Regions from separate parts of the Homo sapiens genome. Here regions 1 and 3 are each linked to region 2. Evidence: promoter capture Hi-C in 16 types of primary human blood cells and fetal thymus (Javierre and others, 2016). All regions are on one chromosome and are shown on one strand. Each heading gives the region's core, a stretch centred on a gene start or on the middle of the fragment in contact. The rest is flanking DNA. Distances are from core to core; before and after follow the strand shown. Region 1 has its middle 14 kb from the start of TBCC. Region 2 holds the start of RPL7L1 (ribosomal protein L7 like 1). Region 3 overlaps BICRAL (BICRA like chromatin remodeling complex associated protein).

The links. The method cuts DNA at HindIII sites, captures the fragments that hold promoters and counts their contacts. A CHiCAGO score of 5 or more calls a contact.
Region 1: a fragment that was not itself captured here is called in contact with the fragment with the promoter of RPL7L1 in region 2 in 1 of 17 cell types (naive CD4 T cells); the score reaches 6.5 in naive CD4 T cells.
Region 3: a contact is called between a fragment that was not itself captured here and the fragment with the promoter of RPL7L1 in region 2, in 2 of 17 cell types (naive CD4 T cells and megakaryocytes). The highest score is 5.9, in naive CD4 T cells.

Annotation. Positions count from the first base shown.
Region 1 is chr6:42,758,241-42,762,162 of GRCh38, reverse strand. It overlaps a transcript of BICRAL not described here. Among named protein-coding and RNA genes, the nearest start is that of TBCC, 14 kb to the right of the region's middle. The HindIII fragment of the contact is 5,436 bases long and covers 1-3,922 here.
Region 2 is chr6:42,878,154-42,881,867 of GRCh38, reverse strand. It overlaps RPL7L1 (ribosomal protein L7 like 1), which reads right to left and starts at 2,252. Exons shown (of 6, transcript NM_001366481.3): 1 at 1,917-2,252; 2 at 902-1,007. The coding sequence starts at 1,957. RefSeq lists enhancers at 1,991-2,050, 1,326-2,282, 2,071-2,540, 2,283-3,240. The HindIII fragment of the contact is 10,267 bases long and covers 1-3,714 here.
Region 3 is chr6:42,788,768-42,792,683 of GRCh38, reverse strand. The region is part of intron 1 of BICRAL (BICRA like chromatin remodeling complex associated protein); the gene reads right to left. LOC401261 (a long non-coding RNA gene) reads right to left here. Exons shown (of 2, transcript NR_134654.1): 2 at 1,361-2,268. Among named protein-coding and RNA genes, the nearest start is that of BICRAL, 8.7 kb to the right of the region's middle. The HindIII fragment of the contact is 2,308 bases long and covers 595-2,902 here.

The DNA.
Region 1 (3,922 bases), core at 1,211-3,710, 120 kb after region 2:
CAATAAAGGGCCCTTTCCAAGAAAGTCATAGAGTACAAAGCAAATTCGGCTCCACCACTGACCTTAAGGACTGGGAACTGCAAAAGAACAAAAGTATAAAAGGTCGTGGTGACTGGAAGGCAGAAGGACCTGGCATTTTTGAGGAGCTACTGTAGGCCTGGCCCAATACTTGGTACTTTTCCATACTGTAAGCACTTTATTTAACATCACGATAATCCTGAAAGAAGTACGTATTTCTTTTTCTTTCTTTTTTTTTTTTGAGACAAGGTCACCCAGGATAGAGTGCAGTGATGCAATCATGGCTCGCTGAAGCCTCGACCTCCTGGGCTCAAGTCATCCTCCGATCTCAGCCTTCTGTGTAGCTAGGACTACAGGCCTGTGCCACCATGTCTCGCTATTTTTTTTGGTATTTTTTATAGAGATGGCAGGGTCTCACCATGTTGTCCAGGCTGGTCTTGAACTCCTGGGCTCAAGTGATCCTCCTGCCTCAGCCTCCCAAAGTTCTGGGACTACAAGTATGAGCCACTGTGCCCAGCCAAGAAGTAAATATTTCTTTCTTTTTTAAAATTATCTCATGCAACAGATGAAAGAAGTATATATTTCTTTATCTGCACTTTGTAGTTGAAAGAAACCAAGCTCAGAGAGGTTAAATATCATTTCCAATGTCACAGAGCTAGTATTGCACAACTAATCAGAATTAATTAATTAATTTATTTATTGCACTCCAGCTCTGCTGCCCAGGCTGGATTGCAGTGGTGCAACCTCAGCTCACTGCAACCTCCACCTCCCAAGTTCAAGAGATCCTCCACCTCCCAAGTAGCTGGGATTACAGGTGCGTGCCACCATGCCCAGCTAATTTTTCTACTTTTAGTAGAGATGGGGGTTTCACCACGTTGGCCAGGCTGGTCTTGAACTCCTGGCCTCAGGTGATCCGCCAGCCTCAGCCTCCCAAACTGCTGGGATTACAGGCGTGAGCCACCGGTGCCCTATCAACTAATCAGAATTTAAACTCAGATCTGTTCACTTATTAGCACCACTACATCTCACTGATAGGAAGAGACGTGAGAGAACAGGTGCAGAAAAGTTTTAAGAGATTTAAGTACCTTTTTTTTTATTTGAGACAGAGTCTCACTCTATCACCCAGGCTGAAATGCAGTGGCGTGATCAGGCTGAAATGCAGTGGCGTGATCTCGGCTGACTGCAACCTCCACCTCCCAGGTTCAAGCAATTCTCGTGCCTCAGCCTCCCAAGTAGCTGGGATTACAGGCGCCAGCCAGCATGCCCAGCTAATTTTAGTACTTTTGGTAGAGATCGGGTTTCGCCATGTTGGCTAGGCTGGTCTCCAACTCCTGGCGTCAAGTGATCCACCTGCCTCTACCTCCCAAATTGCTGGGATTATAGATGGGAGCCCCAAGCCTGGTCTTATGTACCTTTTGACAAGAAAGTAATTTAAAAGCAGTCGGACACAGTGGCTCATGCCTGTAATCCCAGCTCTCTGGGAGGCTGAGATGAGCAGATTGCTTGAGCCCAGGAGTTCGAGACCAGCCTGGGCAACATAGCAAGACCTTGCCTCTAATAATAATAATAATAGTAATAATAATAATAATGTTGAAACCACATTCAAAAGGCAATTTATACAGCTGACAATATATTACTCTCTCTTAGAGTCAACAGCTAAGGCACCTACCTCTTTAACTAGGACTCTTTCCTGATCAGCTAAGCAAATATCCCTTGCCCCTGGACTCCTTTCCCTTACTCTAGAAATGAGAACAAGTCCCCTGACCCACTTTTTTTTTTTTTTTTAGTAGTAGAGATGGGGTTTCTTCATGTTGGTCAGGCTGGTCTCGAACTCCTGACCTCAGGTGATCCGCGTGCCTCGGCCTCCCAATTTTTTTTTGTTTTGAGATGGAGTTTTGCTCTTGTTGCCCAGGCTGGAGTGCAATGGTGCAATCTCAGCTCACCGCAACCTCAGCTCACCGCAACCTCCGCCTCCCAGGTTCAGTGATTCTCCTGCCTCAGCCTCCTGAGTAGCTGGGATTACAGGTGTGCACCATCATGCCTGGCTAATTTTTGCATTTTTAGTACAGACGGGCTTTCACCATGTTAGTCAGGCCGGTCTCGAACTCCTGACCTCAGGTGATCCACCCGCCCCGGCCTCCCAAAGTGCTGGGATTACAGGGTTAAGCCACCACACCTGGCCATAAATCATCTCTTTAACAAGCACTTACTGTGTACCTCCTGTGTCCCAGGTGCTGTGTGAGGGACACAGCATGGAATAAAACACATCCTTGCTTGGAGAAGCTCAAGCTGCAGAAGAGATACCTGTAAACAGATACTGACTTCACACACTCATAATCATCTAACCAGAACCAACAGAGGGCGAAACCCAGATAGGCTTCCCAGAAGAGGAGGAATTTATAAAACAGATCTTGTAGGAGGCAAGTGCCTTGTTATGCAGAGAAGATGAGGCATAGGATCACAGAGGAACCCAGGAGCAAGCAGCATGTGTAAAGGGACCTACCAGCTTGCTCCAAACCTTCTCCTCCAGGTTCACTCTGTCAGGTACCAAGATCACCACAGACCCAGTTCCACAAACTGGAACTTCTACAACTCTTGCTTCCAGTTAATCACTGAGTCCTGTCTAGTCTCCTTCCAAATCTCTCAGACACTCCCCCTTCTTTCCTCTATCTTTACTCCCATCATCGCAGCCCAATGCCATTTCTCTCTGGCTCCTGCAATGGCCTCCAAACTAACATCTGTTTATTTTTGTCCATGTAAATCCACTTCACACAGAGCATCCAGACTGATCCTTTGTTAAAGGGGGAAAAAAGGAAAAATAATGTGATGCTCTCATCATCCTGCTTAAGCCCTTTGGCAGCTCCAGTGCCTTCAAGATTAAGCTGAAACTTCCTAACAGGATTTACAAAGCCCTTGGTGGGCTGGCCCCTGCTCACCTCTCTAACTTCATCTCTGATCTCCACTTCCAGCTTTGAAGTGCTTCAGTTCCTGACACAGTGACTTATAACCCTGGTTGCCCATGAGAACCACCTGGGGAGCTTTAAGAAATACTGATGCCAAGGCCCCACTCCCAGAGATTCAGATTTATTCAAGGGGCATTAGGATGCTGTAAAGCCTCCACGAGATATCAATGAGCAGCTAGGGTTGAGAACATTGCTTTAGCCTGACACGTCTCTGTCTCATGTCCAGGTTTGTTGCACATGACCTGTCTGTTGCTGGAAGCACTGGAGCTCTCCTAGCCTCCTGGCCAGAAGGCAGAGACTTTTTGGTCTCTCTCGTTCACTGCTGTAGTCCCAACACCTAGAAAAGTGCCTAGAACATAGTGGGTACTCCATAAATACCTGCAGAAAGAAAGAATGAATATGTGACTCTGCTTTCACCCTTCACCTGGATAGATGCCACTCAATTCTTTTTTCTTTTTTTTTTTTTTTTGGACCCCCCGACTCCATCATAAGGACCCAGCTTATATTTCCCAAAAGATAGTCCTGATTCTCCTGGTCTGAGATAGGTTACTCTGTATAATTTCAGCACTCCAGATTTCCATTGTAGTGTAAATCGTACCACACTGTAATTATCTGTATCTCTTACTTAGCTTCTGAGCTCTGAGGGAGCCCAGTCTGTGTGTTCACCAATACACCTGCACCATCTGGCAAAGTGCCTTAAAAAGTGCAGCACGAATACATGGAAGTGAACAGACACAGTGTGCTGGGTGACAGCAGACCTTGGTGTGGCTGGAGTAGGGCGCTGGTGGGACATGAGGCTGGTGAGGTACACCGCGGGCCAGATGCAAGAGGCCCAGCATTCACACTAAGGAGTCTGAACTGTATGAGACAATAGAGAGCCAGCAGAGGTTTTAAGTGACACAATCGGCTTGCATTTTAGGGCAATAACTGGCTACGGTATA
Region 2 (3,714 bases), core at 1,003-3,502:
AATCGCTTGAACCCGGGAGGCGGCGGAGGTTGTGGTAAGCCAAGATCGCATCACTGCACTCCAGCCTGGGTGACAGAGTGAGTCTCTGTCTCAAAAAACAAAACAAAATTAAATTAAGTTAAAAAAAAAATTAGCCAGGTGTGGTGGCGCATGCTTGTAATCCTAGCTACTTGGTTGGCTGAGGCACGAGAATTGCTTGAGCCCAGTAGGCAGAGGTTGCAGTGAGTCGAGATTGTGCCACTGCACTCCACTCTAGGCAAGAGTGAGACTCTTGCCTCAAAATAAATAAATAAATAAATAAAGCTATTAAGCAATCCAGAGAGGATTTAAACTACATAGGCGGAAGGAGTATAGATTATATGCAAATACTACAACCAGTTATTTATTTATTTATTTATTTTTTGAGAGAGTGTCTCGCTCTGTCGCCCAGGCTGGAGTACAGTGGCACGAACTTGGCTCACTGCAACCTCCACCTCCCGAGTTCACGCCATTCTCCTGCCTCGGCCTCCCGAGTAGCTGGGACTACAGGAGCCTGCCACCATGCCCGGCTAATTTTTTATATTTTTAGTAGAGACGGGGTTTCACCGTGTTAGCCAGGATGGTCTCGATCTCCTGACCTCGTGATACGCCCGCCTCGGCCTCCCAAAGTGCAGGGATTACAGGCGTGAGCCACCGCGCCCGGCCTACTACAACCATTTTATATAAGGGACTTCAGCAGTCTGAGATTTAGGCATCTGTGGGAGTCCTGGAACCAACCCCTTAAGGACACTGAGAGACAACTATACCTGGTCTGTCAAACCGTTGGGGGGAGCTCGTCAATACCAAATGTAGTCCAACACATGCGGGATAAAACTCACCAAATAAAAATTCTAATTACTTTCTCTTGGTTCCCCACCATTACCTCCTTCTTTGCCAAAAGTGCCTGCTTTGCCTGGGTGGCTTTGAGGGCTTGATAAGCCTTCCTCTTTTTCAGGAGATTTTCTGGAACCAAAGGGATTTTTCTTTGCCTGATGCAGAAAATTGAGATCAGAGATAACATTTAGAAAAGAACACTTGGCCGGGCTCGGTGGCTCAAGCCTGTAATCCCAGCACTCTGGGAGGCCGAGGTGGGTGGATTACCTGAGGTCAGGAGTTCGAGACCAGCCTGACCAACATGGTGAAACCCCCGTTTCTACTAAAAATAAAAAATCAGCTGGGCGTGGTGGCGCACGCCTGTAATCCCAGCTACTCGGGAGACTGAGGCAGGAGAATCGCTTGAACCCGGGAGGCGGAGGTTGCACCGAGCCGAGATCCCGACACTGCGCTCCAGCCTGGGGGACAGAGCAAGACTCCGTCTCAAAACAAAAACAACAACAAAAAAGAAAACGAACATTCAATGGATTTCCAAACCAATTCAATATCCTGGGCTTTAGGGAACATTACTGTTTTCAAGTATCTGAAGAAAGATTCCCCTGAAACCTGCGGTTTCTGACTCCAGGCCTCATAAATCCATCCCTAATAGTCACTCATCCCCAAAGCCTCGGAAAATAATGAATCCTTTAGCCTCTGGGTTCGTATAAGTTAACAGGGTTTTCACGGCCACAGTTCTTCATAGGCACTAGCAGCGACGAATCTATGGGGTTGGGGCGGGGGCAGGCCTATCTGCAGAGTTAACACTTGTCGGGCTGGGTGAATTCAACTGTGGCACTCCAGCCCGCTGCCTGAAGTCAATCCTCGCCTCTCCAGATAACCCGAACTTGACCGCGGTCCCCTCCCTCCTCCGCCACAGCGCTACTCCTCCTCACCCCCACCCTTTGTAAACTGTGGCCTTTTCTATTCCTAGAGCCCACAGGAATCCGCCACCAAGGCATAAACACCGTGGATGGCACCGGATACTCAAGACCCCACTCCAGATATTCAAAGCCCCAAACACTCACTCTTGCTCCGCCATCTTTCTAGTGGTGCAGCTACTGATCATGCGCAACCCCACCACATGGGGAAGACAGCACACGCTCTGTTTACTTGACCATAGAGACGTCTGTTCTAGCTCACGCTGGAGGACCAGTCAGCGTTCACTTAGCCGCAGTGAGCCCTTGAGGTCCCGCTAACCCCGATTCCTGCCAAAAGTTGCACCGCTTCTTAGGGTTTTTAGAGCCTGTGTTATTTTCAAAACCCAGCCCTTTTCTTGTAAGTTACAGTTTCATCACAAGCGGCCTGGCTGTGGACAGCAAAGTGCTTCCCACAATGCACCTATGGCGTCCGCTCCTAGCTACGGCGCCGCACTTCCGGCGCGGCTGTGCTGCGTCTCTGGGGAGGAAGACAGGCAAACTCCGCGAAACATTTTCGCTCTGTGGAAAAACTTGGAGGCTATGGCTTTGGCTCTCACGTGTAGGTGGAAGTGTTTGTTGAGGACTTAGAGTGGTAAAGCAGGTAGCTGCAATTCCGTCTGCTTGGCCCCGTCGATGCGTCCTTGAACACGTTATTTAACCCCTCTATACTGCGGCTTCATTACCCATAAAATGGGTGTACAGTAATAATAGGTCTACCTAATGGCGTTACGAGGATTACAGGAGATTAGATAAAGCGTTTAGCAGTGTCTGTCAGCACTATGTTTGTTACTATTACTGCTGGACCGAAAACTACAACATGCTTCCTTCCCGTCTAAAACCGTTACACAGGCCGGGCGCGGTGGCTCACGCCTGTAATCCCAGCACTTTGGGAGGGAGGCCGAGACGGGAGGATCACCTGAGGTCAGGAGTTCGAGATCAGCCTGGCCAACACGGCGAAACCCCGTCTTGGGCGGAGGTTACAGTGAGCCGAGATCGCGCCACTGCCCACCAGCCTGGGCGACAGAGCAAGACTCCGTCTCAAAAAAACAAAAAGAAAAGAAAAGAAAAAAAAAGAATAAAAATAAAACCCTTATGCAGCTCTCATCGCCCGGAATTTGCGTTCTTCCCTCCCAGTCTATATAGAATCCTGAAAAACAGTAGGTCGGGCCGGTGGCTTTCACCTGTAATCCCAGCACTTTGGGAGGCCAAGGCAGGTGGATCACTTGAGGTCAGGAGTTGGAGACCAGCATGGCTAAGATGGTGAAACCCCGTCTCTACTAAAAATACAAAAAATTAGCTGGGCGTGGTGGCTCGCGCCTGAAGTCCCAGAAGGCGGAGGCTGCGTGAGCCGAGTTTGTGCCACTTGCACTCCAGCCTGGGCGACAGAGCGAGACAGTCTCAAAAAAAACAAGAAATAAATTTTTTTTAAAATTAAAAATCCTGAAAAACAACACAAGTCTTATCATCTCTGGAAACCTCCAGAGCAGCGCTTCTCAAGCATTAATAGTGAATAGGAGTCACCTGAAGATTTTACTAAAATACAGATTTTTATTCAGGAGGCCGGGTGGGGAGCTGATATTCTGCTTTTTTTTTTTTTTTTTTTTTGAGATGGCGTCTCGCTCTGTCGCCCAGGCTGGAGTGCAGTGGCGCGATCTTGGCTCACTGCAAGCTCCGCCTCCCGGGTTCACGCCATTCTCCTGCCTCAGCCTCCCGAGTAGCTGGGACTACAGGCGCCCGCCACCACGCCTGGCTAATTTTTTGAATTTTTAGTAGAGATTTCACCTTGTTAGCCAGGATGGTCTCGATCTCCTGACCTCGTGATCCGCCCGCCTCGGCCTCCCAAAGTGCTGGGATTACAGGCGTGAGCCACCGCACCTGGCCAATATTCTGCATTTTTAACAGGCTT
Region 3 (3,916 bases), core at 499-2,998, 89 kb after region 2:
ACTTCGGCCTCCCAAAGTGCGGGATTACAAGCATAAGCCACCACACTCAGCATCAATTTCTAAATATACTTATTTGCACTTCTAAAAAGTCTCAGGGTTAAATGAAATCTAGGCCAAGCGGAGTGGCTTACACCTGTAATCCCAACACTGTGGGAGGCTGAGGCAGGAGGACTGCTTGAGGCCAGGAGTTTGAGACCAGCTTGGGCAACATAGCAAGAACTCATCTCTACATTTAAAAAAAAAAAAAAATTAGCTGGGCATGGTGGTACATGCATGTAATCCCAGCTACTCAGTAGAGGCTGAGGTGAGAGGGCTGCTTGAACCCACGAGATGGAGGCTGCAGCTATGATCACGCCACTGGACTTCAACCCTGGGTGACCAAGATACTGTCTCAGAAAAAAACCAAAAATGTTCATAAGAAAAAAAGTTACAGTAAGCTAAGCTTATTATTGAGGAAGGAAAAATATTTTATAAGCTTAATGTAGCCTAAGTGTATGGTGTTTATTAAGTTCACAGTAGTGCACAGTGTCCTAGGCCTTCACATTCTTTCACCACTCACTGACTCACCCAGACCAACTTCCAGTCCTCCAAGCTTCATTCATGGTAACTGCCCTATACAGGTGCACCATTTTTTTCTTTTGTATCATATTTTTACTGTACCATGTTTAGATATGTTGATACACAAATACAGTTACAGTTACCTACAGTATCCAGGTACAGTCACATGCTGTACAGGTTTACAATACAGGAGGAATAGGCTATATCATATAGCCTAGGTGTGTGGTAGGTTATACCATATTGGTTTGCGTAAGAGCACTCTATGGTGTTTGTACACAATGAAATCACCTAACGATGCATTCATCAGAACCTATCCCTGTGATTAAATGACACATGACTGTATTTACTAAAAACCCATCAGAGGCCAGGTGCAGTGGTTCACACCTATAGTCCTAGCACTTTGGGAGGCCGAGGTGAGAAGACCGCTTGAGCCCAGGAGTTTGAGACACGCCTGTGCAACATAGTGAGTTCTCATCTCAAAAAACAAAAACAAAAACCAAACCCATTAGAACCCATCAGGGTCTCAAACAAGGTGAAGGTTTAACAAATATTATTTCTTTTCCCCCTCATTTTCTTCCCTGTGAAAATGTTTCCATTTCAGGCCAGGACACAAAGTTCAACTCCTAATGAAAAAAAGTGTCCTGGATTTGGGTTCAACTGAAATAAACCATTTCTAGAAAGGCAATATCTTTCATATCTTATTCTCTCACATTCTCAGACTCAGGGCTTTAATTTTAAGTAATGTTAAGTGTTTAATGTGTTTGCAAGATAAGAGAGCCAAATAACCCACAAAAACAGAACATGTTCGGTTTCACAACTTTATTAAAAATAAATTTATAAGTAAACAAATCGTAACTTTATAGATTAAAGTTGATTGGGATTAAGGAGAACCTGGGTATAAGAGGATCTGGTACAGAGAGGTCTCAGGATCTTTTCCTGAGTGGGAGTACATACGAGGTAGGGAAGAGAAAACAACAAACCAGAACAAAGTTGCTGCTCCCAGGTCCTCTTTCATCCTCCACCTTCCCACACAGCATTCTGACAGCCCCTGAGCTCTCCTCAACTGCACTACAAAAGGGCAGGCCACCCCCAGCACAGTCAAGTCCTGAGCTCCCTCTGCTTGTAGCCAGGCACCATGTTAGTGATTTCCACCTCAGGGCTTTCCTTTTAAAATCCACACCCCACATGCCTTTGCAGTCAGCTCTCTCACCTCTCCATACTCATTTCACTCTTCCCCAACTCCCCCAGCCCACCTTCTGCCAGCTCCTTCACTCACTGTATTTTCCTCTTCTACTATACAGAACATTATTCATCAAGCAAGAGCCATGCCATGCAGAAACGCATCTGGTATGCTACTTAAATCATGCCGTTTCACCCGTTTTTCCCCAGATTTGCTCCTCTCACCTTTAACTCAAAGCTATCTTTCTCAGTGAAGAATGTAGACAGCTATTTTGAATTCCATCATCTACTCCATTCTTATTTTCTCTAATCTCACTTTACGGTTATTGTTTAGCCTATTTGGGGAGCAGAGAAAACTCATGAAAAAGGGAATGACAGCAGACTCAAAGAGGAAAGAAAGGGGAAAAGAAGGTGGGGGGGGGGTGCTACATACTTCCATTTGACATTATTTAAATAAAAAATGATTTTCTCGGCAGGATGCAGTGGCTCACGCCTGTAATCCCAGCACTTTGGGAGGGAAAGGTGGGAAGACTGCTTGAGCCCAGGAGTTTGAGGCCAGCCTGGGTGACAAAGAGAAACCCCTGTCTCTACAAAAAAAAAAAAAAAAAAAAAAAAATTAAATTATCTGGGCATGGTGTTGCATTTCTATAGTCCCAGCTACTTGGGAGGCTGAGGTTGGGGGAATCCCTTGATCCCAGGAGGTCCAGGCTGCAGTGAGCTACAATTGTACCACTGCACTCCAGGCTGGGTAACAGTGAGAACCTGTCTCAAAAACAAACAAAAAATGAAACTCAATGCTTATTTCTCTCCTTCCCTGTTCTGTAATCAGACTTTTTTTCTCATCACGTGCACAGATCAGAATGTCAAATGCTATAAGCCGCCACACATTCAATGGTCTTGATTCTTTTTCTCACAGATCCCTCTACTAGTGTAAGATATTGCTGATCTCTAACAGAATACTGTTTTCCTTTTGATTCCCATCATTCTACTCTACCTAGGTTCTCCAAGTACTGAGTCAGCAAATGTTTACTGAGTGCTCAACTTGTTTTGAATGCTGTGCTAAAGGCTTAGAACAAAACAGTAAACATGGGAGCAAATAATGTAATATTCCCAGGTCCTATACTACAATCTCTACGTCTATAGGTGACTTATGCACCCTCAAGCTTGGTACCATGATAAGAAGAGATACTTTCTCTTTAGTTTCAGTAATCTGAAATTTCATTTCTAAAGCAATTTTCTTCCATATGCAAATAACACCTCTATCTGCCACAAATATTTAAGTGTTCATTCTTTTTTTTTTTTTTTTTGAGACAGTCTAGCTATGTCACCCAGGCTGGAGTGCAGTGGGAAGATCTCAGCTCACTCCAATGTCTGCCTTCCAGGTTCAAGCAATTCTCATGCCTCAGCCTCCTGAGTAGCTGGGATTACAGGTGTGTGCCACCATGCCTGGCTATTTTCTTTGTATTTTTAGTAGAGATGAGTTTTGCCATGTTGGCCAGGCTGGTTTTGAACTCCTGGCCTCAAACGATTTGCCTGCCTCAGCCTCCCAAAGTGCTGGGATTGTAGGTGTGAGCCATGGGCCCAGCCTAATTCATTTTTTACTATGGTAAAATATATGTAAGATTTACAATTTTAACCATTTTTTTCCAGGATTGGGAAAACCCTTTATTTCTCTATAGAGTTACTGAATTTTAAATATTTAAAAGTGTTTGGTTGAGTGGCATTACATACATTCACATTGCTGTGAAACCAAGAGCCCTATCCAGCTTTAGAAATTTTTCATCTTCCCAAACTGAAACTCTGCGCCCATTAACTCACTTTAAGCCAGTAATGATTTTCATGGCCCCCACTCTGATTCTTCTCTTGCTTTCCTACTCAGCTAACATTTCAAGGTTCATCATCAAAATCACCCCCTTGCAACTACTCTCAAGCCTCTGGCACTGCTTCTCCTCTGTCAAACCTGCAGGGCAAAACACGAATTTTGGGTGAACTGATCACCTGCCTGCTCTTCGCTGCCCTCATAACAGCTGAATGTTGCTAGGAGAAAAAAAAAAATCACACAACTAACTCAGCTGACTGGTTTCACCTTAAATTCATGGCCCCAAGCCACGGCAAGGGATTCAACAATGCCCAGCATTGAAACTACCTTGTTTCCCAGTTACTCAGTTCCTTGTCCTGT